Regions from separate parts of the Homo sapiens genome. Here all the other regions are linked to region 4. The links are contacts of gene promoters, found by promoter capture Hi-C in blood cells and fetal thymus (Javierre and others, 2016). All regions are on one chromosome and are shown on one strand. The core of a region is centred on a gene start or on the middle of the fragment in contact, and the rest is flanking DNA. Distances in the headings are between cores, read along the strand shown.

Region 1 (2,902 bases), core at 226-2,725, 310 kb after region 4:
AACATCCTGAAGAATATGAGAAGAATGTCATTCCCTGTACATAGATCATCATAGGAATCAGAAGAGAATTTATTCGAAATGCTCATGAGCTATAAGCGCTGGAGAGGTAGTGCAGTGCTCAGGAGCAAGCCCTGGAGCAGACACACCTGAGTGTGGATTCTTTTTTTTTTTTTTTTTTGACGGAGTCTCACTCTGTCGCCCAGGCTAGAGTACAGTTTGCGTGATCTGGGCTCACTGCAAGCTCCGCCTTCCGGTTTCAAGTGATTCTCCTGCCTCAGCCTCCCAAGCAGCTGGGATTACAGGAGTGCACCACCACGTCTGGCTAATTTTTTTTTCCTTTTTTTTTTTTGTATTTTTAATAGAGATAGGGTTTCACTCTGTTGGATAGGGTGATCTCAAACTCCTGGCCTTAAGTGATCCCCCACCTTGGCCTCCCAAAGTGCTGGGATTATAGGCGTGAGCCACTGCACCCGGCCCCGAGTGTAGATTCTTATCTACCTGCTAACAACAATCCCAGCATTGAGGCTAAGGGTGAAAGATGGATGGAATGATGAAATATCAGACAGCCAAGGAAAACAAACAAACAAAAAGTCACAGGATCTGGAACTCAGTTTAGAACAATCAATGTAATTTGACAAAATGGCAGGGGTGTAACCAGGGTTGGATTTCGTTCTCTCTAGTTTCTCTTCTCATCCTTCCGTATGATAATTCTGCTAAATCATCATTTGTAATCCTTGCACAAAACCAGGTGAATTTAAAAAGATCACTTAAAGAGTTAAATTCTTCTTAAATTAAAAAGAGTTGGCAGGGCACGGTGGCTCATGCCTGTAATCCCAGCACTTTGGGAGGCTGAGGTGGGTGGATCACGAGGTCAGGAGTTCAAGATCAGCCTGACCAAGATGGTGAAACCCCGTCTCTACTAAAAATACAAAAATTAGGCAGGCGCGGTAGCAGACACCTGTAATCCCAACTACTCGGGAGGCTGAAGCAGGAGACTTGCTTGAACTTGGGGGCAGAGGTTGCAGTGAGCTGAGATCACACCACTGCACTCCAGCCTGGGTGACAGAGTAAGACTCTGTCTCAAAAAAAAAAAAAAAAAAGAGTTAAAGAAAGTTAGTCAAAGGTCATTATAATAAGATACATGAGACTTCAACAAAACTTGCATAAGAATATTTAGCATCCGCTTTGTGAGTATAAATAAAACAAAGTATAGCCAGGTACAGTGGCTTGCAACTGTAATCCCAGCTACATGGTAGGCTGAGGTGGGCAGATCACTTTAGCCCAGGAGTTCAAGACCAGCCTGGGCAGCAGAGTGAGACCCCATATCTAAATATAAATAAATAAATAAATAAATAAATATATATATATGTGTGTGTGTGTGTGTGTGTGTGTGTGTGTATATATATATATATATATATTTTTTTTTTTTTTTAAATTAGCCAGGCATAGTGGAGTACACCTGTAGTCTCAGCTACTTGGGAGGCTGAGGCGGGGGGACTGCTTGAGCCCAGGTATTAGAGGCTGTGGTGAGCTATGCTTGTGCCACTGCACTCCAGCCTGGGTGACTTTTTAAAAAATTAGCCAGGCACAGTGACATGTGTCTATAGTCCTAGTTACTTGAGAGGCTGAGGTGGGAGGACTGCTTGAGCCAAGGAGTTGGAGGCTGCAGTGAGCTATGATCACGCCACTGCGCTCTAGCCTGGGCAACAAAGCAAGACACTGTGTCAAAAAAAAAAAAAGAAAGAACAAAAGGACTAAATCTCCTAAATGTAAAGCATGGAAATCCTTTAGGTTCATTACACATTCTCATACAATCAAAATTCTAACCATAACTCCACTCACACCCTTCAGTGACTCAGAGCAAAATCATCTTAAAAAGTTGGAAAAATCTGGCCAGGTGCAGTAGCAACACAGGGAGACTCCATCTCAACAAAAAAAAAAAAAAAAAAAATTAGCCGAGTGTGGTGGCATGCTACTAGGGAGGCTGAGGCAGGAGGGCTGCTTGAGCCCAGGAGGTTGAGGCTGCAGTGAGCCATGATTGTGCCACTGCGCTCCAGCCTGGGCAATAAAATGAGGCTTTGTCTCAGAAAAAAAGAAAAAAAGTTGGAAAAATCTGAAACTATCAGAATGAGTCTTGATAAGAACAGACTACAGAGGTAGGGAAAAAATGGACTAAATCTCAAGATTTTTGCAATGGCATCATAGGCAGGGTGATATGTTTGCAAGATAGTTACCAGGCTCCCTTGCTATTTGATAATCCCTCAGGGCAGCAAATTCAAGTTCTGAGCTCAAGGTTTGACTCTGCAACTAAGTTAGAATATGATTTTAAGCAAGCTCTTTAATTTCCTAAGCCGATTCCCTTACCCATTAAATAGGGCTGACAAATGTACTATCTGCACTCCAGCTCTGCAGTAAGGATCAAAACCAAAATAAGATGTCTGTGAAAGTATCTGAATGCTTTCGAGTGCTCTACAAATTAAAGCACTATCATTACCATTTCAATGGCAGTGGGAGTGAACACTCCCTGCATGGCTAGCAACAAAATCAGATCTAAGAATGTTATTGTGAATGACAACACTCACAATCCCATCTTCTTGCTTCAAAAAATACCCAGCTGGCACTGACTGTACATAGGTCCCAAAGAACACCCAGGGAGGAGTATGCATGGGAATTAACATAATTATGGGGCCTCTAGTATGCGAATGACTAAGTCCCACAGAAAGAAACTGGATGATTATCAATATCACTTTCCACAGCTAAAAGTGTTACACGCTGAAAGTGTAACAAAATATTGTCAAAGAGAAAGATGCCGACTGCCATGAAGTTAAGTGTAAGGTGCTAGAATCCCGAGGTCATCTTTTTATGCTCTTTACTGGTGCAGTTCCAAAGTTCTATAATTTTT
Region 2 (2,771 bases), core at 31-2,530, 440 kb before region 4:
CAATAAGGATCCCAATTCCACCACTCGGAGAGCTAGTCAGACTAAAATCTCCAAAGGTTGCCATTTATGAGAGAATTCGAAGGGTGTCCTTTGAGTCAACCTACAGCACAATAGATCAAACTTGTTCTGCCTCAAAAGTACAGTCAAGAGTGAGCAATCTTCCCTTACCACCCACTACTCCAACCCACCCAAGCTCCTTTCTCCAGGGATGCCTAAGTGATCTATTCACATGACTCTAGGATCCACCTGTATCCATGACAGTGTCTGCTGTCACCAACCTCCAAATGTCAATTTCTTACATATTTCGAAGTAATTGGAATGCTGTAGAAAGTGAAAATCATAGATTTTCAGTTTCATGTTACCCTCATCGCTTTCACCTGTATATCAGAGCTAGCTTCACGCATTCTTTTCTCTTGCCTCCCAGCTATCACGCAGTTGTTGGATAAAGCGGCCACTGCTCCCAAAGATTTGATGGAAGTTCTGCCAGATTTACCCACTCACCTGAAGGGAGATTTTCTGTACACCCCATGCCCCCGGACTGGTCACAAGGGTCAGCTGAGTTGGTTCACCCCCTCCCACTCTCGTCTTCGAGGCCCTTCATCCAGGAAAAGTCAGTCGCAAATTTAAGGCCTGGCCCTGTCGGGTTTCAAAACGATCCCGGAGGACTTGGGCCGAGGGACAAAGGAAAGCGAGGTCAGAGGCGGCCTTTCAGCCCGGGAGAGGCCTGGGGCCGCACAGCCGCCACCCCCTACATCACCTCCGCCGTCCCCAGTCACCCCCAGAAGTCCCAAACTAGCCAGAGCCCGGGCTTGCTCGCGTCCCTTCCGCGAGGCCGGAGCCCGAGCCCCCGCCGCCACCCAGAGCCCCCGCACCTTCTTGGGCGCCTTGGTGACGGTGGCCATGAAGGAGTACTTCTCGGCGTCCTCGATCTCCTTGGCCTGCTTCAGCTCCTCCCCGACCCCGGGCAGCGGCATCGCGTCAGGCATCGACATTCCCCGGCCGGCCCGGCCAGCGGCTGACCCGCCGCCCCCGCCTCTTTCCCCCTCTGGCGCCCGCCCGCCTGCCCGCGCGGCGCCCTCCGACACGCGATCGCCCACCCTCCTGCCGGCCCCTGCGTCGAGCTGCGTCGGCTTCTGAGGTGCTGTGGCCCACGCCTTGTCTGTTCGGCAGCCCAAGGCAGCCGGACAGCGACGGCGGCCACAAGAGAACCAGAACAGCAGCTCCGAGCTCCGACCTGCCCGCGCCGCCACCTCCGCTGTACGCAAACACGCACGCAAAGCGAGGGTAGAGGGCGGTGACGCCACGTCAAGTACTGGCAGCTCCCGGGAGGGGGAAGAGGCGGGGAGAAAGGGCACTCTGTCGTGACGTCACCACGCTGGGCTGGGCCACAGAAGCCGTTCCTCTCCCGCTCGAGAGCGAAGTTCCCAGGGTGAGCAGGACCCTTTGTGCCACCAGGTGGCACCATCAGCCCTGGGAGCAGCGCGAGGTTCATGCAACGATGCTGCGGAACGGAGGGTCTTTGGGCTGCGGGGTTCCTGGCAAGGCCTCAGAGGCGCATGAAAGGGGTGTTTGGGAGCAAAGACCAGAGCCCCACACGACACATCCTACAGCGATTCCTAGGAAATGTCCGGGGCTCGAGACAGCCCACTCACTCACTGGCCCAGCCCCAGGCCCTTTGGATTAAAGCTCCTTCCCAAGGGGCCGTGCCTGTCTTTTTGACTTCATAGGGGGCAGAACTGACTCAGAGTAGTCTGGTTTCTGCACAACGCTTTGTGACTTCCTCCACCACCATCTCCGACTGGGCCTTGCCTGTTTACAAAACCCTCATTGGGATAGGGCTGATGGGTATGAGGGTGGAGACCAGGAGAGCTGATGGAGAAGTCCCCAGCCAGAATGGCCTTCCGGTCCTTGCTCCACCAAAGCATTAGACCCTTCCAGCTCTCAGTGGGCATCCAGGACATTCATGGACTGCTCACACCCTTTTACTGGGCCTACTATGTGCAGTGCCTGTGCTGAGGCCCTGCTGGCAAAAGGACATGTGACGCATTTTATGTTTTGCAAGGCTTAGTTCAGCTGGAGAGGCAAAACCTGCTTGTATCCTAATGTCAGCTGAGGTAGCTTGTCCTTTGAGATTCAAATGACATTGGCTCCAATTACCATGTCCTGTGGAAAGTCCATTACTGGGAGGACTTGGATTTTCATGGTCACCTCTGGCTCTAGTTTTTTTGCCTTGTCTGGCATTTTATTCACTATTCTGGTCTTGTGACTGTTTCTGTAGCTCCTGGGGTCAATTCAGCCGCTTCTCCTTTCAACCCCCACCCCATGCTAAACAACTACAAAATAAGGCTGTAACATGTAGTAAAACTTTTAATAAAGGTTTGTGGGTCACAGGGGAGAGATTACATCACACAGCAAACAATTTAAGAACACATTTCTGAAATGTTCTGAAAAGTTATTTTGGCTGTCTTACCACCCGGGGATTTCTCAATGGCCACAAGATCCCACCACGCTCCCTAGCCCATTGCCATCTAATCTAGCTTCCTCCTGTTCCTCCCTTCCCATCTCTGCACCTCATCCTTCCTTCCTTGATAGACTCTGGGAAGCCAGATTCTCCTCTGCTGTGCTGAGCAATTCCAGTCTTCCCAGTGCCCTTTCCCTAAATTCCTCCCCAGGACCACCTTTTTTTTTTTTTTGAGATGACGTCTCGCTCTGTTGCCCAAGCTGGAGTGCTCTCAGCTCACTGCAACCTCCGCCTGCCGGGTTCAAGTGAT
Region 3 (3,021 bases), core at 493-2,992, 500 kb before region 4:
AGGGGAAACGTCTCCCCCTCCAGACTGTTGTCATCATCATTCTCCTCTTCCTCTTCTCGAGAGTCATCAGCCTTGTAGGGATCCCGCTCGTTGAAGGCATCTAGGTTGTCCTGCTTTATCAGAGCCTGAAACCAGGGAAGGGAGATGAGACAAGAGCCAACTGAGGACGCAGACCAGGGAAGTGCAGCCAGAGGAGACACAGCACATACAGGTGTCCAGTAGAGGCAAGAACAGTGGAAAAACCACAGTGGGAGTCAAGACGGGGGCCAAACCATCAACTACTTCTTGCTCCAGTCCCTCAAAAGCACCACGTGCTGAGCACTCACCATACACTGGACCAGAGCTGGGGACAAAGTATCCTCGCTGTGGAGGCATGATTCTGACTGGCTGATCAGAGATCATTTCCAGCAGCCCTGCTCCTCCAAGGACTGTGCTGCTGCAAGCATGCACCTTGAGGGCCCTCAGGAGTCACAGGGACCTCTGTCGTCCTCACCTTGTGCTCTCGGCGGCCCCGTTTCTGCTGCTGCTCAATCAAGTCTGAAGCAGATGCTGGTGGAGAGGCTGCTCTCATGTTGCGAATCACTTTGATGCTGTCCTCAGGAAGCGGGGGGAGGCCCAGGATGCTGCGCTTCTCAGCCTTCATGCTCTGCAGCTCCTCAAAGCCGCCTAGCGTGCACTGCATCACAGACAGGGAAGCAGAGCCAGGGTCAATGTGTCCACAGGCTGGCCCCTGACCATTGTGTCAGGCTCAGAAACATTCATGACATCATGACCCATGTCTTTATAGAGACCCAGGCAACTCCTGAACAATGGACTGAAGCCACTCCCAAGGAGAATTCCGTGACATCCGCAAGGGAAAGGAGAAAAAGGAACAAGGAAAGAGTGGAGATGCAGGCTGACTGACCCTAGTGCAGATACACTAACTCTGCACCTATGACATACTCTTCAATTTAAAAAGAAGCAAAGAGCCTAACCCTGCAAGTTCCTAGAAAAGTTGGTGAGACTCATGTTTCACAAGTTGTACATGCAAGTCTTTCAAAGTCAAATTAGAAATACTGTTGGTTGCTCAACTTTAGAAGAAGAAAAAAAGCTTCATCTAAACATCTCCCAAGAAGCAGAAACGCCAGCAACATCCAGCTTTAGACTGCTTAGTTTTACTGTTTCTGAGCAATTCAGCTTTCCTCTCTAGCCTTAGCAAGGCTTTATGAAGAACAGAATGTGTGGCCAAGATAAAATGTGTCAATGACTTTTAAGAAATCCTATACTTACTGAGCCCTGGCTCCAGAGTTGACCCATTCTGAAAGGAAGGATGAGCCCCAGTGTAGCAGAGGCCCAACTCACCTCCACCGCCTCCCCATGTCACTCCTCCTGGGAAGGCCTCCTGGCATGGCCTGGCTGCTAACAACGCTCCAAGCCCAGTGTGCTGGACGGCCCACTCTGGCACCCAGTCCCTCCCTACCTAGACACAGAGTCGGGCTGACACCATACCCTGAAGAAAATGGAGGCTGGCTCAGGGCTCACTCTTGCCCCTTTAAGTGATATCCAACCAGGGCCCCAATTACATCAGCTGTAACTTTGCCTCAAATCCCTTTACAAACTCCAGGTCCAGAGCTGCTTGCTGAGAGGCAACTTGTCTGGGGGAGAGCTGTTCTATGACAGAAAACAGCTTCCGGGGTCAGAGAGCCAACAGCCTACTCTGACTCAAGGCCTATGTCCTCGTTGGCTGCAATGGGACAATAGTGGCCCTTCTTTTGTCATCTCCTTTTAGCAGCTTTTTAAATAATTTTTTTTACCAAAGCAGTTTTACAGTCACATAATTCAATATTCAAAAGGATATTCAAGGAACAGTCTCCCTACTGCCCATCCCATAGCACCGTTCTCCTCCTCCAAGGAGGTGCTCACCAATACTGTCTTCCAGAGCAGCAAGAGAACTTTCTTCATGGGAAAGTGAGGGGCGTGACCACTGCAAAATTTGGTCACCATCCCAAACAGCATGATGGCAAATGGCTCATTGTTGTACAGCGGGGAGCCTGGAGGTGACACAAAGGTATCAGGACCCTCCCAAAGCCTTCCGCCTCAGCTTCCAGGCAGGGCCTCTAGAGAGGATCCCCAGGGTCCTACCCAGCTCGGCTCTGAAGGTCTGCCGCATGGTCCTCCACTCAGCCTTGTCACCCTCACACTCCTGATGAACGGTCTCCACTATCAGGTACATGATGTTGAGCAGGACCCTGAGGACAAGAGCCAGCTCACAATGGAGTGGGATGGGGGGGTCAAAGGAGCACCCTAGTGTCTAACAAAGTGCTTACACAAAGCAGGGGCTTACTATTAATAAATGGTATCTGAATAAATGAGTATGAACAAGAATGGCCAAAAGCATTTACCACCCTAAGCTTCCTGAAAAGAAAAAAACCACAGAGGTGGTAGCGAGCTGTAGGGTCAAAGCAGAACAGGGTCACAGTGAGAACAAAAACAGGGTTTATGATGAGGAAATGGAAAGCAGGAGCTGAGAGGTGACGCCCAGGGATCCTAACACCCGGGAGGCAACACTACAACCACCTAGTCTAAAAACTTCCAAATTCATAAAAAGAGCCAGATTTCAACCCTCAAAAACTGAGGGGTGATCTTGGTGGTCAGCAGTTGCTGTGAGCTCCTGGGCAGCCATGAAACATTAGGAAGCTGTCAGGTCTAACCCAATGAAGATGAGCATCAAGCTGTGTACACAAGAAGGTGGGAGTCCAGGGAACACCATCAAGTGTTTCATCCAAATACAAAATACCCCACGACCAGGTCCTGAGTAACAGTGTGAGTAGGAGGCCACACTTAGCTGTGGCTCTAGTAAGTCACTTGACCCTGGATTGCCTTTGGGAGTCTCAACCCAGAGTCCCACCTAGGACGAGCCCTCAGCAGTTCCTACTAATCATTCACACTGAGCCCATCACACATGCAGATGATGTGTACAGAAGCACACACAGCAATGACACCCACAGACAGCCTCCCACACCCTGCTCTGATCTCATCTCT
Region 4 (3,200 bases), core at 635-3,134:
CCCTCTTGTGGGAAAGGAGCTGCTGCCAACCTCCTGCTCCCCAGATCCCCAAATCTCTGATCTCTGGAGCTGACCCTTGGAGGATCCCTGACCAAGAGCCGCATTGGTTCTAGACTTACTACAGTCACAGAACAAGAAGTAGGGAGGAGACACTGAGGTTGCTCAGTTTAAAAACCCATCATTTCTATGGCTGCAATAAAGAGGATCACATGGCAAGATGGGCCCCACTCTCCTCCACAGTTATAGCCTTACAGTCACCTTTGGTTTTTGGTGTTTCCATAAACCTTACACCAATCCAACTTCTAACATGCTATGCATGCAATAGGTGCTGAATACAATTTTGTGAATTGAATCAAACTCAAATTGGTAGTTGAATCCCTGCCCCCTAGGACAAACTCCAAGAACACTCAGTCAGCCAGCTGTGTGCCAGCCAAGGGACTCTCTTGTGGAAAGGGTAGCCGGGGTTCCTGGACTTGAGGAAGCCCTAACTTTGGGCAACTGCCTAGAGACGTGCCTCTCTCTAGGGACACAGAAAGCTCATTTCACAGTTAAGATGCCCACAGAGACTTAGAGTCTGCAGAGAAGTTGAAGAGCGGGCACAAAAGTGAGACATCAGCTTCTCATTAGAGTCTACCAGGAAAAATGCCTGAAAGAAATGCTAGGAGAAGCATCCTTCCTTCTTACTCTCCATGCTCTGATTTACCTATCCCTTCTGTCTGTGAGTGAGGCCCAGAGGATGTGGTTCAGAGTCCCTCCCTGGTGGCTGAAGGAGGAGAGGCCCACCATGTCTGGATGGACATCAAGAGTCCCAGACGGAGGGAAGCAGACCTGGTTTCCACGTGGAGCTGGAGGGATGCCACGAAGCCATGATGGAGCCCTGAGCAAGAAGGCATTGGACATTGCTCTTTTTCATAGCTCCCTCAAGCTTGCCAGTGTCTCCACAGTGACTCCTAAATGCCAGGATTCCAATTTACCTCTTAACAGACAGATCAGTGTATCTGGCTAATGGGCACTCCCTCACTAATGGACTGGGGTTATGGAGGGGAGGGCTGTGGTGTAACAGTTTCATAGGTGAAACCCAGGGAGCCTCACTCCTCTCCCAGGTCATATCATTATGCCTACTCCCCCAACAGATGCTTTCCTTCCCCCACTACTTACTTCCAACAGCACCCCTCTTACCTCCAGGACCTTCAGTACCTAGAAGGCTTTGCCACTAGGGCCTGAGGTCTGGGCCTCTAGCAGGGGCATGGTCAAGTTACAGGATGCAAGATGTGCATAAGTGCCCAGCCCAAGGCCACAGAGGTATTGGGATTCACATGCACCTGTTTTCCAGATCCAGAGCTTCCATCCCAAAGACCTGAGCCTGGCCTTCCTTCAGACAAGAGCGTGCCCCTCCTAAGCTAGGGAAGATTTCCAGGGAGCTACAACACCTCTCCTCAGCAGAGTTGCCCACGCCCAGGACACAGTTGCCCATCAGCCTGTATGCTGAAGGGCCCATTCCTAGAATGTGGGAGACCCATGTCCATGACATGGAGCAAGACAGATGGAGAATGCTGTTTGTCTGCAGGATGTGGGTACTCCTGCCGGCAGGAGATGATCAACCCCCCAGCTCTGGGCTTCAGAGATGCCCACACCCCAATACCGCCTTTGGGATACCTGAGAGCCCATCTCCTGATCAAACTGCTCACCGGAATGTAGGCAGGGCTGGTCCTTGGAAAGCCACCCTTCTGTGGGGATACCTTGGCACTCACCACCAGGCTCTGGGTCTGGCCCCCATTCCTGGCCTAGTCGGCAACTCCTACCTTTGCTGAGCAGTCCCGGCTCCCATGTGATAGCTCCTCTCAGCTGATGCTTCTCCAAGGCTGCTGAAGCCTGAAGCACTGCAGTGAGCGGTGAGAGGCAGCCGGCAAAGCAGAGTGCTCCGAGAGCCTCTGGGTCCTAATGGCCTCCTGCTTCCCACCCAGCCCCTCAGAGTCACTTCTGGAGCAAAAAGGTGGGCACCAATGCCCCAGGCAAGGTGCCTGGCAGTGAGCTCAACTCCTCTCACTTCTCTCAGGCTGCTGGATTGCGTCTCAAAAATTTCGTGGGGCCAGGAAATGATAGGTAGGGGAGACCCTCTTGACCAGCCTGATGAAGTAAAAAAAAAAGTACATGGAGTCAGAAAATCCAGGTTTAAGGCCTGGCTATGGCACTTACTAGCCGTGTGACCTTGGGCAAGTTGCATTTTGGCCTTGATTTCTTAGCAGTTCAAAGAGAAGATAGGAGAGATGCATGGTTCTGTGTGACATCAGAACCAAGGTGCTGATGCAGGCAGGTCAGCGCAGACCCAGGGCCCCAAGGCTTAGGCCAGGGAGGCGGCTGAGGCTCCAGGGGATGGTCCAAGGTTTGGCCCCTTTGGAAGCTGCCTAATGCGTATGGGGGACAGGTTTAGGAGCAGCACTCAGGTTTGAAGGGCAGCTGAAGGCTTTGTCTTAACCCTGCCCTTGCCTCCCAAAAGCACATTATTATTATTTGCTTAGATTGTATGTTTATTGGAACTGGGGCTGTGAGGGCTGATGGAGATTGGCAGGGAGGGGGCGGGAGGATCTAACATCCCCCCGAGCCACCATGGGAACCACCACAACACTGCTTCCTGAAGGAGACAGAGTGGGGGCCAGGGACTCAGGAATGCTCACACTGATCTGGATTTGTGGGACTGGACAGAGCTAGGTAGCATCAGCCACTGAGCATCGCCCATCTGTGGCATGATGGGCCTTCAGAGACGCAATGAAGGGGCATGGCCTCCCTCTAGCTATGAAGAAAATGATCATTTACCCGGGTACATGACTGATACCCAAGGATAGAATCCTAACATTGCAAAGCTGTAGGACATCCTACAGGCCAAGGTATCCATGTTTCTGAGACCCAGAGAGATAAAGAGATTGCTCAAAGCCACATAGCTCCACATGGCAGAGCCATGAGTCTAAACAGGGAATTCAGGCATGATCCCCTACTCCAGAGCCTGCTTCCCTGAGACTTGCCTATCTAGGGACTCCTTCTGCCTCTAAGAAGGAAAAAGGGAATTCTGGAATTGTTTACCAGACCCAACCCAAAGAGCCATAAGAACAATGAGTTACCCAAGGACCTCACTGGGACAAGTTGGCTGCCCCAAGCCCCAGGTCAAAAACAAAGAGGCCACTGACAAACCAAGAGCCGATGCA
Region 5 (3,110 bases), core at 32-2,531, 460 kb before region 4:
GATTTTTATGTATTTAACAGATTACACTTAATTATACATTAATTGCACTGAATACTCATATTGTCTCAAATTGGGCCAGTGGGAGCCTCCTTCAAGCTGGCTCTTCTGTCCTTTGACATGATTCCATTACAGTCCTTCCACTCTTTTTGACAAAAGAAGATATACCAGGCTCACCTTGTTCTTCCTCTTCTCCAAACCTGGAATCAACCATTTCTCTCAGGAGCCTTTCTTTTAGAAGGGAGTAGTATTTAGAAGCTAATACCTGGAGTAAGAGGTGTGATAATTGCTATTAGAGATGCACTACTCCTAGGTTCTTTTGGTAGAGAGAGAAATCAATCCTTTTACTTATGAGTTCATATTGATATTTCTACTTCAGATTTAGTATTACCTTTTTTAAAAAAAGTTTAATTTTCCTATTGTATGTCTTGTCTCTAATGTTTGTTTATTCTATAATGCATACAAAAGTTTCAAAATGACAAGACTAATGTTATTACGCACCAAAATTTACTGAGTGACGTGTCAAGGTTTCATTGAAGTTCTTCTCGTCCTCAGAATATATTTCATAAAGATATATAATCAAAGTACTATTTTCTGTGTGACTGAGTAATCAATTTGATATATTAGGTTAAGATTTTATATTTTAGTTGGGTTCATTCCTTTGTGTTTGTAAGAACTTAAAGCTTTCCTTTTTTCTCTTTGATTTTGACATATAAAACATTTACATGTCTCAAAACTTTAAAAGGTACACTCAGAGAAGTTTCACTGCTATTCCTAGCCCTGATACTCTACGTGTCCCTCCCCATTTTCACTGGTTTCTGGTTTATCCTTTTTATGTTTCTTTTTAGGAGTGTGGGAAGCGAATACATATTATTTTCCCTCCCTTACTCAAAAGGTAGCATGATAATATAGTCTGCACCTTGTTTTTTTCACTTGGGAATCATTTTGTATTGGTTCATAGGGTATAAGAACCAACTAGTATAGGCTCAGGGAAATAAAAAGCTGTCAAGGCCGGGTGTGGTGGCTCACGCCTGTAATCCCAGCACTTTGGGAGGTCGAGCAGGGTGGATCACCTAAGGTCAGGAGTTTGAGACCAGCCTGACCAATATGGTGAAACCCATCTCTACTAAAATTACAAAAATTAGCCGGGCATGGTGGCGTGTGCCTGTAGTCCCAGCTACTCAGGAGGCTGAGGCAGGAGAATCGCTTGAACCTGGGAGGCAGAGGTTGCAGTGAGCTGAGATCATGCCACTGCACTCCCGCCTGGGCAACAGAGCGAGACTCCGTCTCAAAAAAAAAAAAAATTAATTTTGTATAGCAAAATATTGGCAAATTTTGTCAATATATATCACTGCTAGAATATCACTGATCTAAATATTTTACAAACCATTTTTGTTGAACTCTTGGCATACAAAGAACAAGCATCACTGGTAACACCACCTGATAGCACTACATGAAGATTTTTACTTAAAGTTGATTGTACAGGAAGTTTGAAATCCCACTTACTAGTAGGGTGGACACCAAGATCCTGAATGCCTAGATTTATATGACTTTAAGTGCTTTGCCTCAACACCTGTGGCTTACAGTTTACAGAGGGTTTGTATTTTCAAAACATTCTAGAATCCTTTCAATGTTGCATCTATGCTTCACAAATGAGAAAACAGAACAGGGGTTGGGGCTAAGTGACTTGCTTAAGGCAATTTGCTACCAACACTGAGGTTTAAAAAGCAAAAAGCAAAAAAAAAAAAGAACAAAAACAAAAAACACCCATAAGCCCAGTTCTATTTTCCTTCTTTTGGAATAGGCTGGGGAAACAGCAGCTTTCCCCTTTATTTCCAAGGGGTCAGTTTACCTTGGAGTGGTCTACTGTTGCACTATAAGCTTTCTGAGCTTATAACACCAGATAAAGATTTGTAAGCACTGGTAAAGGAAAATAATTCTTTAAGTTCCAAAAACCTTTATTAATTTTCAGAAAAGTAAAATGATGCAAAGAAATGTAATGTTTTTACGTTGCCAACAAATTGCCATTGAAAAGTACTGCTCCATAGATCTGGAAAGGGTGAGGAGAGCCCAGTAATAGCAGAGCCCAAACACTGTGGTAACAAAATGTTCCATTCTAGAATACACTTCCATTGTCTTCTGGGGATGGAGTAAGGAGGAGAATGTATGGGCAATCTAATCTAGACTACTTTACTAGGACAAAAGAAATTAATTCAGAATTCCCTATTTGTATGATTTCCACCTGCGTTTAAGCAAAATTTTTAGTTTAGTATGGTCAAATTGGCCACTGATTTTTTCTTTTTCCTCTTTTGGTCACTGGGGAAATTCGCTGGTTATTTCATGAGAAGTTACCATATTCTAAAACATGCAACAGAGAATATACTTTAAATGTGCTTTTTGAAGAGGTTTATCCTGTGCTGAATGGTGCTGGAGGAATATTTCTTTCACACATGAACACTTAGCACAATCAGATAATTTCTTTTAAACTAAAAACATTCCATTAGGTTCCTTTCTCATCTGTGGTGTGCCACTCAAAAAGCACCCTTTCCAAGTCTTATGTCTAAAAGATCTAGCACAGCTGAATTCCACCAACAGAAAAAGAGTTATATTTGGCCAGGTGCAGTGGCTCACATTTATAAACCAAGCCTGGGAGGTCGAGGCTGCAGTGAGCTGTGACTGTGCCAGTGTACTCCAGGGCAACAGAGCAAGACCCTGTCTCCAAAAAATAAAAATAAAAATAAAATAAATGTTGTATTAAATTTGAAGACCTCAGGTTAAAAAAAAAAAAAATTTTACCATTGATGTATTTCTACTTTCTGGTACCACCTTTCTGACTACTACAACTAACAAAAGTTCTTGTAAGGCTATTATTTTTATTGAAGTATTCTGGATTTAAGTAACATGATATCTGATTACTGAATCTTGGTTTCATAGTTATGGTAGATATTTATTTAAAGTAATCAATTAAATAATCTCACTTTTATGTGCAATCTAAAAAAGCCAAACTCATGGAAGCAAAAAGCAGAAGGTTCTTACCAGGCGTCAGGAAGGTGGAAGAAATGAGGAAATGTTGGTTAAAGGGTACAGTTTGGAGTTATAAGATAAATAAGTTC
Region 6 (3,199 bases), core at 326-2,825, 480 kb before region 4:
TATGTGCACTGGGGGAAGAGGGGAACTGCTGCTCCAAGGCTTGCTTAGTAGAGAGAGCTAGGGAGTGTTTGTACACACACACACACGTACATTGACATCTGTATTTCTTTAACTAGGTTGATATTTATGACTTCACACTATCATCTCCTATTCAAACCCAACAGCAGAGTTCATTCTAGTGTTTTCCCTTTCCAATGTGTAACACCTTCCTCCAAAATGAGACAGCTGGCTTCCGCTACCCTTAATATTTTCACGTACAGTGATCAAATCCCTTATCCCTAACTAATCTGCCATTGCCATTCATCCCCTGCATAGATGCATTCCCCACGCCACTTGGGATCTGACTCCTTGTACCAAGCTACATCCCCAGTTCCCACAAGGATACCACCCACACTCACAGGCTGCAAATCCACATGAATCCCTAGCTTGCTCTGTCTTACCTAATGGCCAAATTGTGGGTAAAGGAAAAAGGGAAGGAATTTGGATCTTGTTGGAATTTTACGTAAACACCACAAAGGAAGAGATCATCTGATTTAAACTGATGTATCCCCAGTATCTAAAACAGACTTTGGCATATATGAGGTAATAGTTAGGTCCTTTTTGCCCTTCTACCTTCTGCTATATGAGGATGCATAAGAGGTACCATCTTGGAAGCAGGCAGCAGCCCTCTTCAGACACCAAATCTGCCAACGACTTGACCTTGGACTTCCCAGCCTCCAACTGTGAGAATATCAATTTCTGTTCTTTATAAATTACTCAGTCTCAGGATTTTGCTGGAGCAGCAGAAACTGACCAAGATAAATACTTTCTTACATCAGAAGACACTGGCCAGTAATCCCAGCACTTTGGGAGGCAGAGGCAGGAGGATCACTTGAGCCCAGGAGTTTGAGATCAGCCTAGATTTCATGGCGAAACCCCATCTCTACCAAAAATACAAACAATTAGCTGACACTGTGGTCCCAGCTACTTGGGAGGTTGAGGTGGGAGGATCACTTGAGCCCGGAAGGCAGAAGTTGCAGTGAGCTGAGATCAAGCCACTGCACTCCAACCTGGGTGACAGTGAGACCTTGTCTCAAAAAAATAAAGAGAAAAAAAAAAAAAAAAGACACTGAGACCACTTCAGAAATGGATACAGGTGTGGGAGGAGGCTGAAGCTTACATAACTTTGGGGGCATTCTTCAGAAATTAGGTCTTAGAAGGACTATGCAAATGAGGAACCCTGAGGCTTAAGCAGCAAGTCTGCTTCCTGAAGGAAGTTAGGAGTGAAAGTACCCAGGCCCGGTGCTTGGCACAGAGCAGGCATACAAAACTTCAGGTATTACTTTGAAGAATCCTGTATCCAGCCTCTATATATTAGGCCCTCAACAAATCTCTATTAAATGCTACTGACCTATAACTTGTCACACCCTAGAAAACAGGTTCTAATGAAGTTTTGCTGTTTAACAAAGAATGACACATACGGACTGCCAATAAGGTCTTATCATTTTAATCGATTTTAATGATTATTGCTCATCTGCAAGGATTAATATTGCATTCATTAAAAATCATTCAATACAAAATGAACTTGTTCTTCCCAAGTTGCTCTCCACATGCTCCCTCTGATGCCAGACTTTTTTTTTTTTTTAACAGTGTCCTTTGTTACATGGCTTGACAGAGACAGAGCCCTTACCTATTATTCCTATGGACACGGTAATAGATATGGGATCAAGGGGCAGGTCAGAGGGCAGGTGAATGTGGGTCCCTTCCCTCCAGCAGGGCTAACGTGATGGATACACTGTTGGCCAGGTTACCTCCCCTAACAGATGTGGTGTTCTGATTGGTTGGTTAAGTGCCCGAGGAAAATAGGCCTTAACTGTTAACATCTACAGAGAAGAAAGCATGGTCACACTGGCAAGGAGTAAGAAGGGATTGGGTAAAAGAAAATGGGAGAGAAAAGGGAAAAAAGTTTTGGCAAGACAATTGTTCCCTGCTAAGAAGCTGCAGGGTGAAAGCTTTCCTTTCTTCTATTTTTGTTTTTAATGTCTGTCTCTCTGATCAGTGGAAAAGTGAAAATTTCTAGTATCTAGCACTAACGTATGACCCAACTTTGAGGGATCACAAGCTAGAACAAGTTGAGGATTTAAAATCCTGGATAATTATATACTTAAAGCTCATGAGCATAAAGCTCACTTGACCATGCAGAAATGCTGGGAAGCAGGGTGCATGGCATGGGAATACATCTCCCTGATCTTTGAGAGAGCCTCTCTGGATATTCTTTCAGAGCATGAGCCAGGATGTACTGACTACTTTCTTCACACATCAGTTGCCCTTTATGATCTCAGTTCATAAACTCTTTGTGGTATGTAGCAATCAAAAGTCATATTACTTCTGTAAAACTAACATTATATAGGGTGTATAGTCCCAGACAAATTATATGAAGCTAGATTTTTCTTGCCCTGGCCCAATTTATCATTCCTCCTCCTGCCCACACCTACCTCCCTTTAAATATTTTAGGTTGCAGAAGCACAGCTGACCAGAAATTTGCTCTTAAAGATAAATCCTAAAGATAGAACTCAGTGCTTTATACTGAGTAATGGCTCAAGAAATTCGCCTTCAGCACAAGCTGTATGGTACACAGCTGATAGAATTTGCTGTTGTGGCTCCAGTTCACTGATGCTATGAACTACGGGCTAGAAACAGAGGGACTTAACAGGGCTTGAGACTAGCATTTCTCTAGACTCAGCATCCTTAGCTCCAAAGGTTCAAAAGAGAAATTGGTAACAACTAACCACTCAAGCAATTCCTCAGCATTAACACCAAAAATTCTCCTTAATTTTTCTTTTCTTTTTTTTTTTTTTTGGACAACAGAAATAAATCCTAGAGGACAAAATTAAACTCAATAGAGTGTAGTCTAGTTAAAAACTCGAAAAATGAGCAAGTCTGGTGGGAGTGGAGGAAGGGCTATACTATAAATCCAAGTGGGCCTCCTGATCTTAACAAGCCATGCTCATTATACACATCTCTGAACTGGACATACCACCTTTACGCAGGAAACAGGGCTTGGAACTTCTAAGGGAAATTAACATGCACCACCCACATCTAACCTACCTGCCGGGTAGGTACCATCCCTGCTTCTCTGAAGAAGTGAAAGAGCACTGATTTCAGCAGCTAAGAAATGGGCTCTTTTAAGGCGATTTAGACATTGCAGATTGTTCCACAG
Region 7 (2,928 bases), core at 396-2,895, 420 kb before region 4:
CAAGTATTTCTTCTGTTCCTTTCTCTTTTTCTCCTCCTTTTGATATTTCCATTATGCCTATTTTCCACCTTTTGTAGTTGTCCCACAGTTCTTGAAATTCTCTTCCTTTTTTTTTTTCAGTCTCTTTTCTCTTTGGAAGTTTCTATTGCCATATCCTCAATCTGAGAGATTCCTCAGCCACGTCTAGTGTGCTAATGAGCCCATCAAAGGCATTCTTCCTTTTTGTTGCAGTGTTTTTTTATCTTTAGCATTATTAAAATTCTTTCTTAGAATCTCCATCCCTCTGCTTACCCATTTGTTCTTGTATGTCGTCTACTATTTCCATTACAGGCCTTAATATATTAATCATAGTTGTTTTAAAATCCTGGTCTGATAATTCCAACATCCCTGCTATACCTGAGCTTGGTTATAATGCTTGCTCTGTCTTTTTAAACTATGTTTTTTGACTTTCAGTATGTCTTACACTTTTTTTTGTTGCACACCAGATACAATGTACTGGGTAAAAGGAACTCTGGCAAACAGTCCTTAGTGGTGTGGAGTTAAGACGTAGGGAGAGGATAAGCATTCTATATAATGAGGTCTCAGTTTTTTAGTAAGCCTGTGCCCCTGGGCTGTAAACTTCACAGTGCTTCTCAATATCCACCTCAACTTGCAATGTGGGACACGATGGCTGCAGTGGGCTGGAGTTGGGTATTTCTCTTCCCCCCAGTTGGTTTTAGGCGCTGATAAAACCCCATTAGGTTAGGCTCTGGTAAAATCGTTTCCCTTGAAGGCAGACCTTGTCCAGAAGAACAGAATGCTCTGGCATATTTCAAAATGGTTACTTTTCCCTAGAAGTATAAAGGGATTTTTCTCTAGTACTCTCTGTGAGAACCTGGTAGAGCTCATGGAGCTAAACCTCACAAAAAACTTGTGAGGCCTCCCTCTGACTGGGACCCCCTGGAGTTTTTATTTCTCAGACTTGTCCACAATGGAGCCTCTAGCAATTTATCAATTACAGTTTAAGTTGTTCTACCCTAATACTGGTTCCCACAGAAGTTTCTGCTCATGGGTTTCTGCCTTGGTTAAGTTGTAATTCTCTGTATCTGTCTCTCTAATTTTAGAGGCAGTGATTTGTCCCGTGACCTCACTTCTCTGAAGGATCTAAGAAGAGCTGTTGATTTTTCAGTTGTTCTTAAAATTTTTTAAATAAAAGAATGAGGAGTTATAAATGAGGAACAGAGTATAAGGAATAATAAAATTTTTCCAAATGTTAGCAAGTTATCTCCACATGGTTATCATCAACGCATCAAATTCAATATATTCAGAATCCCTTTAATTGACTTTGCCTCTTAGGTTCTGGATTTTCAGTCTGGTGCCACCTTTCTGTTGGTCATTCATGTTTGAAACTTTGGGTCATCTTTGACCATTCTCTCTATCTAAAGATTTCTCAATTACCATGTCATGTGTGCTATGCAATTGTAACTTAGTTGTACATCCGTTTTCCTGTCTTTTTCCCCCTGCCCTCCCCTAGTCCATCACCACTTGTCAGGACTTTTGAAATTGCTTCCTAATACTTCCCTGTCTTAAGAGTCAACTTTGGTGGCAGATCAACCTGAGATTAAATCCTAGCTCTGCCACGTATAGCTCTTTGATCTTTGGTATAAAATACTTAACCTCTTTGAACCTTGGGCAGTGCTATAGTTTCAGTATTGGTCCCCTCCAAAACTCGTGTTGAAATTTAACCCCCACTGTGGCAGTATTGAGAGGTAGGGCCTTTAAGAGGTGATTGGATCTTGAAGGCAGAACTGTCAGGTGTGTGGTGGGGCCTGCAAGTAGTTGCCTGCAGCTCCTCTGCCCTCTTCATTTCACCTACTTTTTTTTTTTTTCGGTGGGGTCTTACTCTGTCGCCCAGGCTGGAGTGCAGTGGCGTGATCTTGGCTCACTGCAACCTCCACCTCTGGGTTCAAGCGATTCTCCTGTCTCAGCCTCCCGAGTGGCTGGGATTACAGGAGGCTGCCACTATGCCTAGCTGATTTTTGTATTTTTAGTAGAGATGGGGTTTCATCATGTTGGCCAGGCTGGTCTCAAACTCCTGACCTCCGGTGATCCACCTGCCTTGGCCTCCCAAAGTGCTGGGATTACAGGTGTGAGCCACCGTGCCTGGCCATTTCACCGACTTTGTGAACTTTTCTTCTCCATTTCCCCCCATCTGTTTGCCAGAGGGGTGGGACTGGAAACAGAACAGCTGTGGCTGCTTTGTCTCTCCCCTCCGTGGTGACTTATGGCCTGAGTGGTGACTTACAGGAACCTGGCCACCTAGGTGCTATGCGCCCTCTTAACCTTTGAACTGGAACTGCTGGCTCACACAAGGTTTTGAACAGCTGCAGCAAAAATCCTACAGAAAAGCTGGATTCCTTTGCCTTATGTGGAAACAGCAAGGCCCTGCCAGGTGCTCACCACTGGTCCTGGCAGAAGTGGCTGCTGCTGAGAGTGACCTTCCAAATCCTTGGTGGAACTCAGCACTACAGGCTCTTAAATAAAAACCCTTTAGACACAGAAAAAAGAAAAAAAAAAAACAAAAAAAACTCTCAAACATTTGATGTGAACAGTGCCCTCATTTGTGTATTAATTCATTCATGGATTAATGGATTAAATGGTTAATTAATTAGTTAATTAGCTTGCTCAGCCTCTCACCATGGGGTGCCCCGAACTACCTGGGGACTCCCTACCAGCAAGAAGACTCGCCAGATGCAGCCCCTCAGCCTGGGACTTCTTAGCCTCCATCACTGTAAGAAATAAACTTCTTTAGAAGTTAGTCAGTTTCAGGTATTCTGTTATAAGCAATAGCAAACAGACCAATATAGACATCACCTATAAAACTGAGGTAATAATACTCAATTTACAGGATGATTGTGAGGGTTGGAATACATTATGGGCCAGACACTG

The links. The method cuts DNA at HindIII sites, captures the fragments that hold promoters and counts their contacts. A CHiCAGO score of 5 or more calls a contact.
Region 1: a contact is called between a fragment that was not itself captured here and the fragment with the promoter of GPR61 in region 4, in 8 of 17 cell types (total CD8 T cells, M2 macrophages, M0 macrophages and 5 more). The highest score is 7.0, in total CD8 T cells.
Region 2: a contact is called between the fragment with the promoter of AHCYL1 here and the fragment with the promoter of GPR61 in region 4, in 17 of 17 cell types (naive CD4 T cells, erythroblasts, total CD4 T cells and 14 more). The highest score is 14.6, in naive CD4 T cells.
Region 3: a contact is called between a fragment that was not itself captured here and the fragment with the promoter of GPR61 in region 4, in 1 of 17 cell types (total B cells). The highest score is 6.0, in total B cells.
Region 5: a contact is called between a fragment that was not itself captured here and the fragment with the promoter of GPR61 in region 4, in 17 of 17 cell types (erythroblasts, neutrophils, M1 macrophages and 14 more). The highest score is 12.4, in erythroblasts.
Region 6: a contact is called between a fragment that was not itself captured here and the fragment with the promoter of GPR61 in region 4, in 9 of 17 cell types (erythroblasts, M0 macrophages, M1 macrophages and 6 more). The highest score is 8.2, in erythroblasts.
Region 7: a fragment that was not itself captured here is called in contact with the fragment with the promoter of GPR61 in region 4 in 5 of 17 cell types (M2 macrophages, activated CD4 T cells, monocytes and 2 more); the score reaches 6.3 in M2 macrophages.

What each region holds. Positions count from the first base shown.
Region 1 is chr1:109,225,194-109,228,095 of GRCh38, reverse strand. All of the region lies in intron 2 of SARS1 (seryl-tRNA synthetase 1), which reads right to left. Among named protein-coding and RNA genes, the nearest start is that of SARS1, 13 kb to the right of the region's middle. RefSeq lists enhancers at 1,353-2,037, 2,038-2,722. The HindIII fragment of the contact is 7,808 bases long and covers 1-2,902 here.
Region 2 is chr1:109,983,274-109,986,044 of GRCh38, reverse strand. AHCYL1 (adenosylhomocysteinase like 1) reads right to left here and starts at 1,280. Exons shown (of 17, transcript NM_006621.7): 1 at 873-1,280. The coding sequence starts at 992. RefSeq lists silencers at 735-804, 985-1,054. The HindIII fragment of the contact is 11,948 bases long and covers 1-2,771 here.
Region 3 is chr1:110,040,743-110,043,763 of GRCh38, reverse strand. It overlaps STRIP1 (striatin interacting protein 1), which reads right to left. Exons shown (of 21, transcript NM_033088.4): 7 at 2,122-2,228; 8 at 1,903-2,030; 9 at 494-676; 10 at 1-125. Among named protein-coding and RNA genes, the nearest start is that of STRIP1, 7.6 kb to the right of the region's middle. The HindIII fragment of the contact is 1,300 bases long and covers 1,093-2,392 here.
Region 4 is chr1:109,538,556-109,541,755 of GRCh38, reverse strand. It overlaps GPR61 (G protein-coupled receptor 61), which reads right to left and starts at 1,884. Exons shown (of 2, transcript NM_001393907.1): 1 at 1,803-1,884. RefSeq lists enhancers at 1,370-1,869, 1,870-2,371. The HindIII fragment of the contact is 3,019 bases long and covers 928-3,200 here.
Region 5 is chr1:109,999,382-110,002,491 of GRCh38, reverse strand. The region is part of intron 1 of AHCYL1 (adenosylhomocysteinase like 1); the gene reads right to left. Among named protein-coding and RNA genes, the nearest start is that of AHCYL1, 16 kb to the right of the region's middle. The HindIII fragment of the contact is 1,198 bases long and covers 683-1,880 here.
Region 6 is chr1:110,022,014-110,025,212 of GRCh38, reverse strand. It overlaps AHCYL1 (adenosylhomocysteinase like 1), which reads right to left. Exons shown (of 17, transcript NM_006621.7): 17 at 1,471-3,199. Among named protein-coding and RNA genes, the nearest start is that of STRIP1, 11 kb to the left of the region's middle. The HindIII fragment of the contact is 837 bases long and covers 1,157-1,993 here.
Region 7 is chr1:109,961,064-109,963,991 of GRCh38, reverse strand. No RefSeq gene overlaps it. Among named protein-coding and RNA genes, the nearest start is that of AHCYL1, 22 kb to the left of the region's middle. The HindIII fragment of the contact is 7,765 bases long and covers 1-2,928 here.